Regions from separate parts of the Homo sapiens genome. Here regions 2 and 3 are each linked to region 1. The links are contacts of gene promoters, found by promoter capture Hi-C in human tissues and cell types (Jung and others, 2019). All regions are on one chromosome and are shown on one strand. Each heading gives the region's core, a stretch centred on a gene start or on the middle of the fragment in contact. The rest is flanking DNA. Distances are from core to core; before and after follow the strand shown. Region 1 holds the start of ST20-MTHFS (ST20-MTHFS readthrough). Region 2 has its middle 35 kb from the start of TMED3. Region 3 has its middle 48 kb from the start of MINAR1.

Region 1 (3,740 bases), core at 249-2,748:
AGTGGCTGAGGTGAGCGGATCACCCTGAGGTCAGGGTCGAGACCAGCCTGGCCAAAATGGCGAAACCCCGTCTCTACTAAAATACAAAAATCAGCGAGGCGTGGTGGCGCCCGCCTGTAATCCCAGTTACTCGGGAGGCTGAGGCAGGAGAATCGCTTTAAACCGGGAGGCGGAGGTTGCAGAGCCAAGATCGGGCCATTGCACTCCAGCCTCGGTGACAAAATATAATAATAATAAAATTAAAAAGGGCTTAGCATAGTATCTGGCCAGTAAGAAGAAATTATGATTATTATTTTGACCTTAGACCTCTCTTAACTGTCTGAAATTCGGGTTTCTTAAAGGACACAGGCGGTCTCTGAGGCTCCCGCCAGCGGAAACAATCTCCCATTAAAATAGGCATCGGTTAAATATTTGCTGAACAAAGTAAACTACGTCTCCCCGAATCCCATTGAGCGCCTACTCGAGATCCGGACCGGAGCCGGGCAGGACGGGCCCGTCGGTCCCACACGCCGTATAAGTGGGTGGAGAATACCCCACACGCCCAGACCAATAGGCGGGGTGAACGAGGACCGTGTTCACCAACTCAGCCCGGCTCGCGGAATGCCTTCTGTTCGCCTCCGGGCTTGCAGTGGCTTTCCGTCGCAGGTCAGGCCGCGTTCCACTTCCGCCGGCAGTCCAGACACGCCCCTCCGGGTCCAATCCCCGCCCCTCACACACCTGGCCCCGCCCCGTCGGGAGCTCGGCGGTCCTCTCTGCGCTAGGTCTTCTTAGCGCCCGACGGGGCCACGCCCATCCCCGACGCTCTGAGGTCACCTACAGGGCCGACCCTCGGTGGGCGGAGGGACGGAGGGAAGATGGCTGCAGAGACCGGATATTGGCGCTGCCTCCCCGAATCCCGGACCTGCGCTGAGGAGGCGGTTCATCTGTGGCCAGCGGTGCTTCGGGACCCGCGCTGGGGGAACCCTGGCGACGGGGCCTGGCCCTGCTATATGCGGGGGCCTCGGCTGGAGTGAGCGGCGTGGACGCCTCTTTCCTCCGGCTCTTCCCTTGTTGCTGCGAGAGCGAGAGGGCCGCGGGCGGCGGAGGCAGCGGGGCCGGGATGGAGGACGTTAACTCTAACGTGAACGCGGACCAGGAGGTGCGGAAGCTGCAGGTGCCGGTGAAGAAGCTGGGGAAGCAGCACGAACAGCCGAGGAGCCGCTCGCGCTGTGCTGGGCCCCGGCTCCATCGCGGTTCGCCGGCTCCTCCACTCCCTCCTACGGCGCGGGGTCCCCTCGGGGCTTCCCCTTGGGTCTCAGCGCAAAGTCGGGCGGCGGGGCCGGATGGACCCGAGGCGGACGAATAACGAGGAGCTGCGAGACGCCACCTTCTTGCTGGCGGCGGGGGAGGGCGGCTTGCTAGACGACCTGGAGCGTCTGTCAGGCTAGGAGGAGGGGGAGGAGAGCTGGTGAGCGCCGGGCGCCGGGCGGGGCTGGGCGGGGACGCCCCGGTGGCGGAGGACGTCCCGGAGGATCCCTCTGGTCGGGCGCCTGGCTTTGTGTAGCCAGCCAGGTCCGCTCTCGGCGGGTACTCGTGGTCTTGCTCTGGCAGAGGGGAGGTCAGTTGGAGTTGGGGGTTCGAGGCTTGCAAGTACAGGGCTTGTAGCTCCTTCTCTGGATTGTGGACCCTCTGGGTGCTGGGCCCTATTGGGGTTGGTGGGTTGGTTGGATCCAGAAGGGCTGTTCGCCGTGGGGAGGAGTCGGAGGTGGGAAACTGCTTTGTAGGCAGGGATTCTGCTTTGTATAGGAGACCAGCTTTCGGATGCTGGTCTGGGCATTTTGGATGTTGGGGAGGGGTTTGGCTTGATGAGGTATCACCAAGTTCGGGGGGTGCAGACCAAAGTCGCCGACGTCTATGCAGCGGTTGGTGTTTGGGATCAATTTCTAGCGTGGATGGGGAGACCATGTGGATCAGCACTCCCCTTTAGGTAGTGGGGTAAAGCTTGCTCTGTGTGAAGAGGTCAGAGGATGGTGGTGTTTTGTGTGAAGAATCAAGGGTGAAACAAGAGCCCTGGCTCTGATATTTTAAAACAAGAATTGAGTCTGGCATTTTGCAGAGCTCTGAATTGACATTTATCACATCTATCCTTCATTTCCATGTCCTCCTATGGGCAGAAAAGAGTCCTATTTTAATACCTAAACCAAAGCTGTATTGTCATAAGCCACTTCTTGATGAAATTGTGACACACACCTTAATATCACTTTCATAAATAGGAAATGGGAGGCTTTTCTCCTCATTTTATTATAAAGATGTCTGTGGGAAATTCTCTTAATTCATCCTCTTTAAAATTTTACCTTTTAGCTAAAATGTCTCTGTTGAAATTCAAATTTCTAACTTAGTGAAATCGAAATCATTCATAGACTGTAGTATTGCAGGGCTCGAACTGTGCAGTGTTCTGAGGTAGTTAAGAGCTTTGCTGGATTCAGGCCCTGGGTTTGCCCAGGCCTGTATGACCTTGAGCAAGTTATTCTGAGCTTCACTTTCTTCCTCTATGATGGAGAAAATAATGATAGCACTTACCTCTATAGAGTTATGAAAATTTAGTAAGATAATCCATGTATGCATTTAGCACTGTTGAGATCTTGGCTTACTGCAAGCTCCGCCTCCTGGGTTCACACCGTTCTCCTGCCTCAGCCTCCCGAGTAGTTGGGACTACAGGCACTGGCCACCACTCCCTGCTAATTTTTTGTTTTCGTATTTTTAGAAGAGACGGGTTTCACCGTGTTAGCCAGGATGGCCTCGATCTGACCTCGTGATCCTCCCGCCTCGGCCTTCCAAAGAGCTGGGATTACAGGCATGAGCCACCATGCCCAGCCTATTACTCTTAAGCCTAGTTATTTAAATCAAACATTTAGTGAGCTCTTACATGATGTTATAGGAGACTCTGAAGATTCTCAACTGTTGATTCCTGTTCATAAGGCAGTTATAGTCTTGTTGAGAACTAAGTTTTATGCAGATAAATAAACTAGAAAGTGTATGGTGAATTGCCGAAAGAGAGAACAAAAGTACTGTCAGTGCGCAGTAACTGGGAAGAAAACAGTAGTCCAAAGTAGAGGGGCCAAACTTTGAGGAGGAGGCTTTGGAGTCTGGAAGTGAGGAAAGAGTGGGAAGGGCATTTTATGCTCTGACAGCTACAAGAGCAGAGTCAGAGATATTTGTAACTCCCAGTTAGGAGATTTGAATAACAGAAGTACTCTTGAGTATATGGTGACAAACCTTTATTTTTTATTTACTATTTTTTTTTTTTTTTGAGACGGAGTCTCGCTCTGTTGCCCTGGCTGGAGTGCAGTGGCATGATCTCAGCTCACTGCAACCTCCGCCTCCCAGGTTCAAGCAATTCTTCTGCCCCAGCCTCCCAAGTAGCTGGGACTGCAGGTGCCCACCCCCATGCCCAGCTAATTTTTGTGTTTTTAGTAGAGATGGAGTTTCACCATACTGGCCAGGCTGGTCTCGAACTCCAGACCTCGTGATCTGCCCGCCTTGGCCTCCCAAAGTGCTGCGTGAGCCACCGCACCCAGCCGACAAACCTTTATTACCAGGTGATATCAAATATTATTAGAGCTGACTGTGGTAGTGACAGTTTTTCATATAAATGAAATTGCATCCTCCCAAAGGAATCCTGAGTATGTATGCACTTTAAAAGAACCCAGAATCATCTAAATATTGTCACATGGCTCTTGCAAGTGATGATAATAGTGATG
Region 2 (3,740 bases), core at 720-3,219, 580 kb after region 1:
TGCCTGGCAACAGGGTAAGTGCTTAATAATTGTTAGGTCTCATTTTTATTATAGAGCTCTTATCATCTTAATTTCCCACAAGCAATCTATGACTGGGCATCATTCTCCACACTTTGGACAATCTAGTGTTTTTTCAAACATTTTGATCTGGGTAAAATCAGCTATTTTTGTTAACTTTCAAAATGATATGCTTTTTTGGGTATAAGAGTTTTTTCCCTTTTTCTGTGTCATCTCTGATTTCTTTGAGCAGTGTTTTGTAGTTATCCTTGTAGAGATCTTTTACCTCCCTGGCTAGCTGTATTCCTAGGTATTTATTCTTTTTGTGGCAACTGTGAATGAGATTGCATTCCTGGATTTGCCTCTCAGCTTGACTGTTGTTGGCGTATAAGAATGTTAGTAATTTTTGCACATTGATTTTGTATGCTGAGACTACGCTGAAGTTCTTTATTAGTATAAGGGGCTTTTGAGGTGAGACTATGGGGATGTTTAGATATAGTATCATGTCATCTGCAAACAAGGATAGTTTGACTTCCTCCCTTCTTATTTGGATGCACTTTATTTCTTTCCCTTGCCTGATTGCCCTGGCCGTGACTTCCAATACAATGTTGAATAGGAGTGGTGACAGAGGGCAGCCTCGTCTTGTGCCAGTTTTCACAAAGAATCCTTCCATCTTCTGCCCATTAAGTATAATGTTGGCTGTGGGTTTGTCATAGATGGCTCTTATTATTTTGAGGTATTTTCCTTCAATACCTAGTTTACTAAGAGTTTTTAACATGAAGCAGTGTTGAATTTTATTGAAAGCCTTTTCTGCATCTCTTGAGATAATCATGTGGGTTTTTTGTCTTTAGTTCTGTTTATGTAATGAATCATGTTTATTGATTTGCATATGTTGAACAAACCTTGCATCCTAGGGGTAAAGCCTACTTGATCATGGTGGGTAAGCTTTTTGATGTGCTGCTGGATTCAGTTTGCCAGTATTTTGTTGAGGATTTTTGCACTGATGTTCATCTAGGAAATTGACCTGAAGTTTTCTTTATCTGTTGTGTCTCTGCCGTGTTTTGGTATCAGGATGATGTTGGCCTCAGAATGAATTAGGAAGGAGTCCCTCCTCCTTAAATTTTTGGAGTAGTTTTAGCAGAAATGCTACCAGATCGTCTTTGTACATCTGGTAGAATTCAGCTGTGGAATACTTCTGGTCCTGGGCTTTTTTGGTTAGTAGGCTATTTATTACTGGCTCAATTTCAGAGCTCATTATTGATGATGTTTCAAGTAAGGCCACACACATACAACTATCAGGTCTTCTACAAACCTGATAAAAACAAGCAATGAGGAAAGGATTCCCCATTCAATAAATGGTGCTGGGAGAATTCGCTAGCCATAGGCAGGAGATTGAAACTGGACCCCTTCCTTACACCATATACAAAAATCAATTCAAGATGGAATAAAGACTTAAATGGAAAACCCAAAACTATAAAAACCTGATTAGTTTGTTCTCATGCTGCTAATAAGGATGTACTCAAGACTGGGTAATTTATAAAGAAAAAGAGGTTTAATGAACTCACAGTTCCCATGGCTCAGGAGGCCTCACAATCATGGTGGAAGGTGAAAGAGGAGCAAAGGCACATATATATGGTGGCAGGTAAGAGAGCATGTGCAGGGGTACTGCCCTTTATAAAACCATCAGATCTTGTGAGACTTATTCACTATCATGAGAACAGGATGGTGGGAATAGCCCCCATGATTCAATTATGTCCACCTGGTCCCTCCCACGACACATGGGAATTATGGGATCTACAATTTAAAATGAGATTTGGGTGGGGACACAAAGTCTAACCATATCAAAACCCTATAAGACAACCTAGGCAATACCATTCTGGACATAGGAACAGGCAAAACTTCATGACAAAGACACCAAAAGCAATTGTAACAAAAGCAAAAACTGACAAATGGGATCTAATTAAACTAAAGAGCTTCTGCACAGCAGAGGAAACTATCAACAGAGTGAAGAGCCAACCTACAGAATGGGAGAAAATTTTTGCAAACTATGCATCTGACAAAGGTCTAACTCCAGCATCTATAAAGAACTTAAACAAATTTACAAGAAAAAATACAAACAACTCCATTAAGAAGCGGGAAAATGACATAAACAGATACTTTTCAAAAGAAGGCATACACGTGGCCAACAATCTTATAAAAAAGAGCTCAACATCACTGATGATTACAGAAATGCAAATCAAAACCATGAGAAGATGTCATCTTACACCAGTCAGAATGGCTATTAGTAAAAGGGAAAAAATAACAGATGCTAGTGAGGTTGTGGAGAAAAAGGAATGCTTATACACTGGTGGTGGGAATGTAAATTAGTTCAACCATTGTGGAAGACAGTGTGATGATTCCTCAAAGACCTATAAGCAGAAATATTATTTGACCCAGCAATCCCACTACTGGGCATATACCCAAAGGAATATAAATTGTTTCGTTATAAAGACACATGTATGTGTATATTCATTGCAGCACTACTCACAATAGCAAAGACATGGAATCAACAACCTAAATGCCCACCAATAATAGACTGGATAAAGAAAATGTGGTACATATAAACCATGGAATACTATGCAGCCAGAAAAAGAACAAGATCATGTCATTTGCAGGAACACGGATGGAGCTGGAGGTCATTATCCTTAGCAAACTAATGCAGAAACAGAAAACCAAATACTGCATGTTCTCACTTATAAGTGAGAGCTAAATGATGAGAACACATGGACACATAAAGGGGAACAACACACTATGGCCTATCAGAGGGTGAAGGGTGGGAAGGGAGAGGATCAGGAAAAATAACTAATGGGTACTAGGCTTAATATCTGGGTGATGAAATAATCTGTACAACAAACCCCCATGACACCAGTGTACCTATGTAACAAACCTGCACATGTACCCCTGAACTTAAAAGTTAATAAAAAATAAAGTAAATAAATTTTTAAAAAGAGCTTTCTATTTTTCTTCCCTGTCTGGATCTTTGGCCCAGTCTTTCTATTGAGTTGGTGGTCCTCTTCTTCCTGATTGGTAGCTCTCTATATTTATATGTCTTTCATTGTCCCCCTGTTTTCTCTCTTTCTGTGAGCATTTCCATTAAATTCCCATATGCTGCTCTGTCTCTCAAATTATAAAACAAAAACAGTCTCTTCCACATCTCCTTCCGGCTACTGCTCAAACACAGCAAAGCTTTAAAGTTAAACTCCTATAAAACATTGTCTCCCTTTCACACTGCCTCATCTCACTGGGCTCACTACAGTGAAGTCTTTGCCTCCAATGTTTCGTACAAATTACTCTTGTTAAGTCACCAACGATCTCGACCTTGCCAGATCCAAAGTTCAGTTACCAGTTCTCTTCTTGCTGGCCCTCTGGGTTGAATGAGGTTCCCCCAAATTCATGTCTTCCTGGAACCTGGGAATGTGACCTTAAAAGAAAAAGGGTTTTCTGCAGATGTAATTAAAGTAAGGATCTCAAAATAATGTCATCCTGCATTAGAGGACCCTAAATCCAATGACAAATCCTTATAAGAGAAAAGAGAGAGAGACCAAGAAACCACCATGTGAAATGGAGTTGGGGGTTTGGTGGTGTGTCATGGAACCTAGTCATGTATCCTAGCCTGGGGCCACCAGAATCCTGGAGAGAGACATGGAATGAGCTCTTCCCCAGAGCATCTGGAAGGAGCCAACCCTGCCAATACCTTGACTTTA
Region 3 (3,740 bases), core at 801-3,300, 540 kb after region 1:
TTTCTCTGTCTACTTTCTCTGATTCCCAGCCTCCATTATTCATACTACTTTCTGTGCAAATTTCTCCCCTGGTCTAGTGTTGTAGAACATGGGGGTTAAATGAAGACTGTGGATTCTGGTGGACCTGGGCTGAAATCCAACAGTTGTTTTATCATTTGTAAAATCAAGATAATAAATAGTACCTAATGATGGCAGAGGCTGCTGCTATCACACTGGCTGCGGCTGGCACTGCACACTCCATGAAGCCAGTGGGAGCTCTGCCCCTTCTAAGTTGGGGGTTCAGCTCCCCAGGTGCCACTGTAGCTACCCAAAGTGTGGCTGCAGACCCAGGCCTCCCGCTCTAGGGAGCAGAATGGACCCCTGCCCAAACTGTGGCTGTGGATCTGAGCCTACCTGTGCTCTTCGAGGTTGCCAGGAACAGGCAGGATCTGCCCTCTTGGGTGCAGCTGCAGGCACCCAACCAGTGACTGCAGACCTGGGCCTTCCACTCCAGGGAGCAGGCAGGAGCCAGAGACAAGCAGGAGTCCTGCTCCTTCCAGCAGGGTGGGATGGGAACTCCCCAGGTGCAGCTGCAGCCACCTTCCCAGGTGCAGCACCTCACAAAGTAAGATCCACTGGCTTGACATTCCAGCCAGCCACCGGCAACTGGGTGGAGCCTGCTTGAGATGGGATGGAGCCCCAAGAATTTGTGAGGTGCTGTGGAAGTGGGACCCACAGAATCAGCTCCCTGGATTCTGCCCCCCTTCCTAGGGGTAGGTGCGGACCTCTCACCTTGCCTGAGTTAGACACATCTGATGGGGATCCCAGGGCCAGAGTATATAAAGCTGCTGGGTCTCTGTGCATGCCTGAGCAGTTACTCTGCCAAGACTCCACACAGTTCTGTGTGTCAGCCCCAGGGCCTGGTGGTGTGGGCTCACAAGGGCATCTCTTGATCCACAGGTTGCAAAGATCCGTGGGAGAAGCATGTTTTTCCAGGGTCACACAATCACTCACCACTTCCCTTAGCTCTGTGTCACTCCCAGGTGGGCCATCACCCAACCTTGCTCTTCTTCATTCTCCATGGTTAAGTTGTTTCCCTAATCAGTCCCAATGTGAGAACCTGGATATTTCAGTTGAAGGTGCTGTATTCACTCACGCCTTTCATTCCTCTCCGTGAATGCCACGGACTGCAGCTGCTTCTAATTGGCCATCTTCGCCCCTCTGCTGTTCATTTCTTATACAGATGAGGTCTCACTATGTTACCCAGGTTGGTCTCAAACTCCTGGGCTCGAGCGATTCTCCCACCTCGGCCACCCAAAGTGCTGGGATTACAAGCATGAGCCACCACACCCAGACTGGGTTTTTAAAAATATGTTTTATAAGGTAAAGGTCAAATTTTATTTGATTTTTCTATATGGCTACCCAATTATCTGCTATTATATCCTACCTTCTTCCTACAATCTCATCACCTACTTGAGTATACACATGGTAGACAAGAGGGGAACTTTTTGAGTTTGATTTCTCTTTGTCCCACCAGCTATACTGCCAGGGAATCACAGCATAGTCTGTGCCTCTTGGCATCGCATATGAAGCCCTTCCCTATCTAGCCCTTGCACCATTTCCAGCCTCATGTCTGACCAATAGACTCCCCCAGCTGCATAAGGCCCCTCATCATTCCCAGATGTGCCACACTCTTTCCTATTCCGACAATGATGTATATATCTTTGCCTTTACTTGTGGCATTTACACGTCTACTCATTTTTCAAGATCCTACTCAAATATTACCTCTTCCAAGAAAACTATACGAATATCCCACACTACTATTTATTTCTACCCTGTTCAGAATCCCTCCTATCCTTCAAGTCCTTTGTTTAGTATTAATCACTGCCTCGAGAGAGTTCTGGAGGTTTTGGACTGTTGAAGGAAAGGGAAGATGTACCTTATTGGGTACCTGTGACCTTGCCAATGTTTGAGAAGAAGCTTTTAGAACCTCTGAGCCAGCTCAGGTCACACCACCATCTCCATAGGAACACTGAATTTCCTCCCACAGTTTTGCTTGATGGAACATCCAGGAGCTCTTTGATGATGGGAGGTAGGTTTCTCCGATCTCTTCTCTGGGCTGAATCATGCCCCAGAAATAGGGCCATGAATTATTGGGGTCTTAGAGCTTATGCAGTAAAGGATTAACCCAAAGAAAGTTTTGGCTCTTTACCCCCAGTTTCTGGAAGGTAACATTTAAGCCCTTGGAATGTCCTGGCTTTCAAAAGTGTCTTTATAAACCTAGGACCTTGGGCCATGCCAGATAGTCTGTACTAACCATAAGATTTATGGTGAGGTCCTTGGACAACACAACATCAGCTTTATCTCTGGAGGGGCTAGAGATCAAAGTCAGTCGTATGGTGGCTAGCCATATCTATGTGACTGATTCCTCAATAAAATCTCTGGACACTGAGACTCAAGTGAACTTCCCTAGTTGGCAATACCCTAGGCATATTGTCACACATCGTTGCGGGGAGAGATAAGTGCAGTCTGTATGACTTCACTGGGGAGCGACAAGTGGGAAGCTCCATTCCTGGTCTCTCCTAGACTTTACCTTTTGTACCTTTTCTTATTGTTGATTTTCAAATGTATTCTTCTGCTCTAACAAACTGTAACCATGGGTAAATTGGCTTGCTGAGTTCTGTGACTTCATCTAGTGAAACTCTGAACCTGAGGATGGTGTGAGGGACCTTCCAAACTTTCAGAGCTTCTACTCAATACATTTCTTTTCTCCATCTAAGGGCACAAAGGATCAAATAGATATAATCTTCAACAGCCTTAAGACATTTTCCAAAACAAGATAGCAAAGGCAGCCACATTGGAAATCGGGTAGCTGGATGGTCCCTGAAGATCAATGACTATACTGATTACCACGTAAGCAATAACTGGTGCAGGTGAGAGTGGACAAGGCAGGAAGTGAAGTGCACCATGGCAGTAAAGCTGTGGGTACCTGGCGATCTACAGGCAAAGAGCCATGTCCCGTGGAGCATGCACAGGAGGTAAACAAGCAGTTGGAACAGGTAGATCCCAGATGGTGATCACACTGGAACCCTTAGTGGTGGCGTTGGTGTTGGTGAAGCACTGGGACCCTTGGAAAAGAAATAAATCGTGTTTATGCCCTTGTAATTGACTTTGTCAATGGGAATAAAGACTATATTGTGTTGGTAAGAACAATAGTATGAGATACCCATGAAAGATAATATAAAAGAAGCTTCCCTGCACCTATATCTGAAAACACTACTTCACAAGTAGATGATCTGATTGAAATTCAGGATGAGGAGTGGCAGGAAGGATAGGTGGCTGAAAAAGCCATTAGCCATACTGGTAGAAGTTCAGAGTGAAGTGGAGGACATAGAGAAAGGGATTAAGGTTTCCAGCCAGGAGTTTAGAGGGTAGAGGTAGTGAACTTCTGAGCCAAAGGAGCTGAGCACCCAGAAGAATTGTGAAGGGCAGACACAGCTTCTGGTAGCCTGGGGAAGGCCAGAGGGCCACTGTGGGATAGGTGCTGCCAGTGCAGGCCAGGCATCACTGGAAGAATGACCTCTCCCTTTGCAACAGAACTTTAGCTATGCATTCTGGCATTGGGCTCATGTGGGTATCAGCAAGTAGCAGCTCCAAGCAGGTACTACTGTCAGCCAAGAGAAGGTAGGGCTAGTCACAACTATTTTGTTTTTCAGTGAGGCAGAACACAGAGCAGAGTCTGGGGGTCCAGCCAGCTTATA

The links. The method cuts DNA at HindIII sites, captures the fragments that hold promoters and counts their contacts. A contact is called where the count stands out against the background at its distance.
Region 2: a fragment that was not itself captured here is called in contact with the fragment with the promoter of ST20-MTHFS in region 1 in 2 of the 25 tissues and cell types used here (bladder and mesenchymal stem cells).
Region 3: a contact is called between a fragment that was not itself captured here and the fragment with the promoter of ST20-MTHFS in region 1, in 3 of the 25 tissues and cell types used here (lymphoblastoid cells, mesenchymal stem cells and mesendoderm cells).

Annotation. Positions count from the first base shown.
Region 1 is chr15:79,920,850-79,924,589 of GRCh38, reverse strand. ST20-MTHFS (ST20-MTHFS readthrough) reads left to right here and starts at 1,498. Exons shown (of 4, transcript NM_001199760.2): 1 at 1,498-1,551. ST20 (suppressor of tumorigenicity 20) reads left to right here and starts at 838. Exons shown (of 3, transcript NR_037653.2): 1 at 838-1,138. It overlaps ST20-AS1 (ST20 antisense RNA 1), which reads right to left and starts at 1,819. Exons shown (of 1, transcript NR_028330.1): 1 at 1-1,819. RefSeq lists enhancers at 1-259, 461-510, 941-1,120 and silencers at 651-800, 1,421-1,470, 1,481-1,550, 1,571-1,680. The HindIII fragment of the contact is 9,290 bases long and covers 1-3,740 here.
Region 2 is chr15:79,344,373-79,348,112 of GRCh38, reverse strand. It overlaps a transcript of TMED3 not described here. Among named protein-coding and RNA genes, the nearest start is that of TMED3, 35 kb to the right of the region's middle. The HindIII fragment of the contact is 4,778 bases long and covers 1-3,740 here.
Region 3 is chr15:79,382,335-79,386,074 of GRCh38, reverse strand. It overlaps a transcript of TMED3 not described here. Among named protein-coding and RNA genes, the nearest start is that of MINAR1, 48 kb to the left of the region's middle. The HindIII fragment of the contact is 3,235 bases long and covers 433-3,667 here.